Linked DNA regions of Homo sapiens: region 1 is linked to region 2. Evidence: promoter capture Hi-C in human tissues and cell types (Jung and others, 2019). All regions are on one chromosome and are shown on one strand. The core of a region is centred on a gene start or on the middle of the fragment in contact, and the rest is flanking DNA. Distances in the headings are between cores, read along the strand shown.

Region 1 (3,983 bases), core at 621-3,120, 540 kb before region 2:
CCATACACATTAGACAATTTTGGAATGTCGTATAAATTTTATGGCTCAACACCAATTCCTGAGTTCTGACCATGTTTTCAGCCTCAGTAGAAAAAATTTTCTTTGTGGCACCAATATCATGTCTACAGTCTTACCTAGACTAGACCCAAATTGAAGCTACAGTCATATCTAGACTAGACCCAAATTGAAGCTACAGTGGCTTCAGTTTGGGTCTAGTCTTTGACTCCTATTGACTCTTAAGTTCCTCTTATGTAAAATGTGGATTGGGTCTCAGGTTTGCCTGGAATTTCTACTGTGAAAGGTATAGTCTCTTTCCTCAAGAATATCATGCTTTTATTAGTAAACAGGATAAAGTTTCACCAAAGCATGACAAATCTATTATATTCGTCTGCATATAGGAGCAAACAAGAGGATCCACTTGTGAAGTAGAATTTATAGTTTTGAATTTCAAGGATGAAAAAACAGAAAGAAACTAAAGGAAAAGAAAAAATTGAGACAGAGATCTATTTATGCTTTTTTTAAGGGACTAAACATAGCAGAGAAATGAGATGAGACGAGTGACAGATAGCAGAAAAAAAAGGAAAGATTTCCAACTGAAGGGAAAATGTAATCCACAGTAGCAATGAGGAAAGGCATCCTGTAGAAAGTGATTCCAGATCTGACTTTTGATGTATAAACAGAAGGTTTTTTTGGTTGATAATTGAGGGTGATGAGAAAAATACTAATGGCAGAAAAAATGATACTAATTTTCCTCTTTTGTATCTTGAAAAGGTAAGTGTGATAGAGAGGATTGTTGGGAAGAAGGAGGGCACCTCGGATTTCAAAATCACGATGAATATTTTTGTAGAAGATTGAGAACTTGTAATAAGTGGGTAATTGAGAATTTTGAATGAGTAGTGTGAAATGCGTGTATGGAAACGGGACAAAATTTATTTTTGTGCTACTTTATATCATAGAAGGGTTAGTTGTTAATGGTGGGCTTTTGCTGTCAGTAACCTAAAATTGTCCACTATCCTTTAGCTTCTGAAGTAAATGTCCAAGGAATAGTAGTGAAAGGAGAAGAAAAATGGTTTATTAAATTCTAGGAATGTATCTGTATTTCATCATGCAAAACTTTGATGAAATCTGTATTGGAGGAAAGAACTGAGTTTCTGGTCGAATGAATTTTTTTACTTCCTTATCCAAATGAAGCTGTTTAGTTTTAAAAAGGCTCCTCAATGACAATTACTTATATAGCTGAAGAAATGGGAGACAAAAGGAGGGCTTCTCTGCCTCCCCAGGGTCTTGGTTTGCCTGGTGGATGGAAGGAAAATGTAGGAAGCACTTGCAGATAGCATACATTCTGGCTTTGAATGATCAGATGTGAATATGTTTCTTGGGATTTGAGGGAGGTTGGACAAGGGGTAGGTGTGGAAGTGCAGAGTGAGTTGGAGAAAGAAGTCTGGCAAGAAGTTGTAATGACTCAGGAAAGGAGATAGGAGTGTCTCCTTCCCTATGGGTAGAGGTAGACATTTTAGGAAAAAAGAGAGGAAAAAAAGGATAAAATTTTGTTATTATCCTCCCAAAACTTGTTATGTAAGATATAAATTTACTGATAGGAGATTTTGAAAATTAGTATCAGCTTTATATTTGGGCACATGATTTCATTGAGGCAGTTCTTTGGCAGAGCAGATTAAAATGATGTTCCTGAAATGAAACTAGAGTCTCCAAAATAATTGGCTCATTTTAAGCAAAATATTATTGATGGTCAACAGTGACTGGCACATAATAATTGATTAAATATTTGTTGCCTAAGTCAGGGAATGAGTGATATGCTTTGGCAATTACTGACAGTATATAAAGGTCTCAGGGAAGTAGAAGACATCCACACCTCAGAAGCATCTTCTTGAAACCCATCTCAATTCTCTCCTCTTGACAACATGTGTTGCAACTACTACGGCAACTCCTGTGGCTATGGCTCCGGCTGTGGCTGTGGCTATGGCTCTGGCTCTGGCTGTGGCTGTGGCTATGGAACTGGCTATGGCTGTGGGTATGGCTGTGGGTTTGGCTCCCATTATGGCTGTGGTTATGGAACTGGCTATGGCTGTGGATATGGCTCTGGCTCTGGCTACTGTGGCTACCGGCCATTTTGCTTTAGAAGATGCTATTCTTCCTGCTAAAACATCACTGTCGGAGGACCATTTGCTTCTAAAATGACACGTCTGAAGATAATGCTGATTCAAGGATTCGTACTCCAAGATTTCTATATCCAAGAATTACATGCTTGACAGAATCTTCGACCTCTAGCCTCACATTTCTTTGAATGAAATCATGGCCATAGGATCCATGGTGTCATCTGACTGTTTTCCAAATGTTATCTTTTGCTCCCTTAATCTCTGATTCTCTGTTATGACTGTGTTAATGATCATAACATCTACAGTTGCGGAAGTCAATCATTTGTAATAAAAATGGTTCTTTATTCCTAAAAATCTTTGTGTACTTGCTTGTGAATTACTCTTTCTTGGGGTGTTTTGGAATCTCTTGAAAATTGGGCTAACAGTATGTTGGCTGAACCTTAGGTACTTCCTTGATATAACGCAATTATTTCCTCTTATGCTTGCATCATAAATAATGTCTTCTCTACCTGCTTCTCATATCCCACATGCTCAGGTTCTCACATACCCAAGCACAAATCACAGAGTATTTCAGAACTGTGCTTTGGAAATGGCACTGAGTGTCTAGAATGGAGCTGGAGGGGGAAAGGGAGGCAAAGTGACACCTATTCAGGATGTTATGACAAAAGTCTCAGGGAGGAGATATAGCCTGAGTGCTTAAAGAAGTAATATAATCCCAGCACTTTGGGAGGCTGAGGTGGGTGGATCACCTGAGGTCAGGAGTTCGAGACCAGCCTGGCCAACATTGTGAAACTCTGTTTCTACTAAAAATACAAAAATTAGCTGGGCTTGGTGGTGCGTGCCTGTAATTCCATCTACTCAGGAGGTGGAGACAGGAGAATTGCTTGAACCCTTAGGAGGTGGAGGTTGCAGTGAGCCGAGATTGCTTGGGTGACACACTGAGACTCCATCACACACACAAAAAAAAGTAATGCAATAGGAGAGATCACTTCCAGGATTGTTGAAAATTTTGAGTCAGGGTCAAGTGTTAGGCAAGAGGAAATAAAAACCTAAAAAAGGGTAAGTTCAAAGAAAAAATATACTATCAAATGTATCTACATCTGACAAAAGTACAAATATATATGTTTGCTTACATGGAGGTTGAGAAATGCTATTTAATTCACTTAAATATTTTTGAATAGACACCATCCTGAAGACACAGAAGAAAAATTATAAGCAAATGTTCTGCTCTCAGAATGTTTATAGTCTAACAGATGAAGATTTAAAGAAGCAAAAATAGGCCAGATGTGGTGGCTCATGCCTGTTAATCCCTGCACTTTGGGAGGCTGAGGCAGGTGGATCACTTGAGGTCAGGAGTTCGAGACCAGCCTGGCCAACATGGCGAAACCCCGTCTCTACTAAGAATACAAAAATTAGCCAGGCGTGGTGATGGGCGCCTGTAATCCCAGCTACTTGGGAGGCTGAGGCACGAGAATCGCTTGAACCTGGGAGATGGAGGTTGCAGTGAGCCAAGATTGCGTCATTGCACTCCAGCCCGGGCAACAAGAGCAAAACTCTGTCTAAAATAATTAATAATAATAATAATAATAATAATGAAGCAAAAACTAATTATAACAAATTCAGACAGATAATTGCTATAGAGGGAATGAAACAGCTTAATGGAGAGGAGATTAAGGTTTGAAGTACTGGAGAGACAGCTCAGGGAAGTATCTTGAGGTTATGACATTTGAGCTCATAATACAACATTTCCAGCAGCAAAGAAAGACTAAAAAGGACAGTAGCAAATGCCAAGGGGGACAGCAGTTCATTAAGTTTTGGGTATGATGAAGGTGATGACACATTTTTCAGTTAGAAAAGAGCAAGGTCTAG
Region 2 (4,367 bases), core at 1,800-4,299:
CCCGAGGGAGGGTGGAGAGGGGGTTGACATGAGCTCTCATTTCTCTCCTGGGTTCTTGGTAGTACTGTGGTTCTTCATGGAAATGGAAGTACAAACTATTGAATAATCGATGTATTTTGCTCTGTAGTTCTAAATTAGAGTAAAAATGTTATCAATCTGTTATATCTCTATTACTGCTATCTGAATTTTGTAGCCAAGTTAATCAATTCAGCAGGACAGAAAAGTAGATAACAGTTTCCTTTTATCTTTGAATTTAGGCCCCTTTTGTCTTTAGCAAACTCAATATTACCATTTTTTTCTGTCTTTTTATTCCAGTGTCTTTTAGGACATGGTTATTTATAAATACTATGGAGTTAACTGTATCATTGTCTGATAAGGAACCTATTTGGAAACCCTGGGCCACTTCCTAGTAGGGAATTAACTGTACAATAATTCTAATGTGAACCTAGTGTTAATTTCCCACTCAGATCCTCATCTTTTGGCTAGAACAATTTCAATAGTAAAGTACCTAATATTTTTGAAATAAGGAAAATATTTTTATGTAAAATAAGTTCCTGGTAAAATTCAAGCCTCAAGGGAAGAGAGGTTTGGTAATACACAAAGCCAAGAAATATGAATGCGTACCTGGGAAGCAGCTCCCACAACGGCTGAGGCACTCAGAGGCAGAGCTTTCTGCTTCTGTCTCATGCGTTCCTGTGTTGATGTGGATAGTCAGCAATATTTAAACAGAGCTCCTAAGAAACATGCCACACGGGAATTCGAAAAGAAATTTCAATGAAGCAATATATGCCTTGACATCCCTTAAAATGTAGCTTCACGTAGTCATTATCTCAACCAGTTATATTATTTCTTTTTCATTTTTCAGTTCTGTCAATCACTCCTTTTTCCCAGTTTGACAATTAAAGATGAAAAATATCTTCTGTTTATATGTCATTTTTCCTTTTGTGGATTGCACAAAAGGAAAATCTTTAAGCTTTACTTCATTTTCTTTTCTTCTTCACATCATAAAAATGATCCTTTCTTTGAAATTTTACTTTCTCTCTGCTTCATCGGGCTACCTTAAATCCAAATATGGGAGAAAATGTTTTCTGCTCACTTCTTAAACTTTGAAAGTTTAAAATCTCAACTTTTAAAATCTTATTTTCCCAAGATTAATCTAAGTCTCCCTCCACCACAAATCTGTAACTGATAGAAACTTGATGAAGAAAATGTCATATATTTTCTTTTCTTTTTTTTTTTTTTTTTTGAGACAGAGTCTTGCTCTGTCACCCAGGCTGGAGTGCAGTGGCGCGATCTCGGCTCACTGCAAGATCTGCCTCCTGGGTTCATGCCATTCTCCTGCCTCAGCCTCCCGAGTAGCTGGGACTGCAGGCGCCCGCCACCATGCCAGGCTAATTTTTTGTATTTTTAGTAGAGACGGGGTTTCACCGTGTTAGCCAGGATGGTCTCGATCTCTTGACCTCTTGATCTGCCCGTCTCGGCCTCCCAAAGTGCTGGGATTACAGGCGTGAGCCACCGCCCCGGCCAAATGCTGCATATTTTCTGCATCAGCCTAAGGGACACCCTGAAGTTTGGCACCTCACAGGTCAACAAATGAGAATATTTCTGTAAATATTAAGTTTTAACTTTTTATAAGGTTTATAACGTCTGTTTAACAAAATTATAACAACTCATACTACTGTGCGTCTGTCCTGCCTCTTTTTTAGAAGACAGTCTACTTGATCCTCCTTTTGCCCTTTCTACCATATAGTTTTTGTTTTAATAATATCCACAAATGACTCAGATTTTTTGAACCATGAAACTCTCAAAGTTTAATCAGTGAGCAGAAACGATTTTCTCCCATATTTGGATTTAAGGTAGTCCAATGAAACAGAGAGAAAGTAAAACTGTAAAGAGAAAATCATTTTTTATGATGTTAAGAAGAAAAGAAAATGAAGTGGCAGCTTAAACTTTGGAAAGATCAGACAGAGAGCTTAAGGTGATCTCCAGAAGAAAATTGCTAGTCGAATTTTCTCAGATAAACATTTATGCTTAGTATAGCACTACTGTTAGAGCATCATTATTTTGAGAAGAAAGTTCAAATTGTCTTGCGTTTAGGGGTTTCTATGTCCTACTGCAGACATAATATTAAAAGGTAGGAAAACATATTTGGTTAATACCTAATATAATACAGTTTGGTAAATATAGTTCCCTTGTCTTGTAAATATCTTATTTTGAAATATCAGCCATTTGTATAGGCCCAAGGGTCTTGTGTCATCTTCAGAATTCTAGTTCCTTCAGCCCAGGAATTCAAAGCAGCAAGAATAACACCACAAAATAAGCTCATAAGCTTATTTTAATGCTATAGTGCTGGATACATAAGATAATCATCTGGTGATTTTTATTTTGGCAAAAAATGTTTTTATAAGTGAAGATTATCAGAAAAGTGTCAATGAGTATTTTTTCTGGCTTAAAGAACTCCAATATGTTTTCAGTGCCAAGGAGAAGGACAGCCTTGTGTATTTAATTACTTTAGCTTATTTTGTCCTCTGGCATGATCTGTTCCCTGATTTCACCACAGTAGAGCTTGCTTTGAAGTTGTAGAAAAATTAAATCAATCACTTGGATCACATGTGTCCCAAAGAATGTGGCTTCCCAGGTAAAAGCAATCTTTCAATCCCCTACTCTCGTTTCACTTTGGCATTTCAACAGCGTTGCAGAATTCTTCGGCAGATAATTTATTTTATCCCTTGGTCCCAGCAGCTCTTATTAAGAGTTTCAGAATTGCCTGTACAAGGTGCACCTTTCACATTACAAGGGATCGGCTCATTTCTTGATGCTTATGCAACCACTTATAACTATGCCTACAGGTAAACATACTGCTGTCTTCTTGGAAGACCGAGAAGTATAAAGAATGTTTATGTGCAGGTCTAGCTGTTCCAAGTACCCAAGTGTTGGTTTAGACACACCTGGATTACCATCCACCTTTTATTGGCTGAGAAAGTTGCCACACCTGATTTGTAAGTTTACCTGTTGCAGCCAATAGCAGGGCCATCTCAGCCAGCCAGCACTGGATACTATCTGGCCAGAAGTAGCAAAGCAGCTCTTATTTGAAAAACCACTGGGTTCCGAGTTCATTACTACAGGAAAAACTGTTCTCTTCTGTGGCACAGAGAACCCTGCTTCAAAGCAGAAGTAGCAGTTCCGGAGTCCAGCTGGCTAAAACTCATCCCAGAGGATAATGGCAACCCATGCCTTAGAAATCGCTGGGCTGTTTCTTGGTGGTGTTGGAATGGTGGGCACAGTGGCTGTCACTGTCATGCCTCAGTGGAGAGTGTCGGCCTTCATTGAAAACAACATCGTGGTTTTTGAAAACTTCTGGGAAGGACTGTGGATGAATTGCGTGAGGCAGGCTAACATCAGGATGCAGTGCAAAATCTATGATTCCCTGCTGGCTCTTTCTCCGGACCTACAGGCAGCCAGAGGACTGATGTGTGCTGCTTCCGTGATGTCCTTCTTGGCTTTCATGATGGCCATCCTTGGCATGAAATGCACCAGGTGCACGGGGGACAATGAGAAGGTGAAGGCTCACATTCTGCTGACGGCTGGAATCATCTTCATCATCACGGGCATGGTGGTGCTCATCCCTGTGAGCTGGGTTGCCAATGCCATCATCAGAGATTTCTATAACTCAATAGTGAATGTTGCCCAAAAACGTGAGCTTGGAGAAGCTCTCTACTTAGGATGGACCACGGCACTGGTGCTGATTGTTGGAGGAGCTCTGTTCTGCTGCGTTTTTTGTTGCAACGAAAAGAGCAGTAGCTACAGATACTCGATACCTTCCCATCGCACAACCCAAAAAAGTTATCACACCGGAAAGAAGTCACCGAGCGTCTACTCCAGAAGTCAGTATGTGTAGTTGTGTATGTTTTTTTAACTTTACTATAAAGCCATGCAAATGACAAAAATCTATATTACTTTCTCAAAATGGACCCCAAAGAAACTTTGATTTACTGTTCTTAACTGCCTAATCTTAATTACAGGAACTGTGCATCAGCTATTTATGATTCTATAAGCTATTTCAGCAGAATGAGATATTAAACCCAATGCTTTGATTGTTCTAGAAAGTATAGTAATTTGTTTTCTAAGGTGGTTCAAGCATCTACTCTTTTTATCATTTACTTCAAAATGACATTGCTAAAGACTGCATTATTTTACTACTGTAATTTCTCCACGACATAGCATTATGTACATAGATGAGTGTAACATTTATATCTCACATAGAGACATGCTTATATGGTTTTATTTAAAATGAAATGCCAGTCCATTACACTGAATAAATAGAACTCAACTATTGCTTTTCAGGGAAATCATGGATAGGGTTGAAG

Evidence for each region. The method cuts DNA at HindIII sites, captures the fragments that hold promoters and counts their contacts. A contact is called where the count stands out against the background at its distance.
Region 1: a contact is called between the fragment with the promoter of KRTAP21-1 here and the fragment with the promoter of CLDN8 in region 2, in 1 of the 25 tissues and cell types used here (heart right ventricle).

Annotation. Positions count from the first base shown.
Region 1 is chr21:30,753,315-30,757,297 of GRCh38, reverse strand. It overlaps KRTAP21-1 (keratin associated protein 21-1), which reads left to right and starts at 1,870. Exons shown (of 1, transcript NM_181619.2): 1 at 1,870-2,283. The coding sequence starts at 1,920. The coding sequence ends at 2,159. The HindIII fragment of the contact is 10,114 bases long and covers 1-3,983 here.
Region 2 is chr21:30,214,779-30,219,145 of GRCh38, reverse strand. CLDN8 (claudin 8) reads left to right here and starts at 3,049. Exons shown (of 1, transcript NM_199328.3): 1 at 3,049-4,367. The coding sequence starts at 3,221. The coding sequence ends at 3,898. The HindIII fragment of the contact is 13,225 bases long and covers 1,652-4,367 here.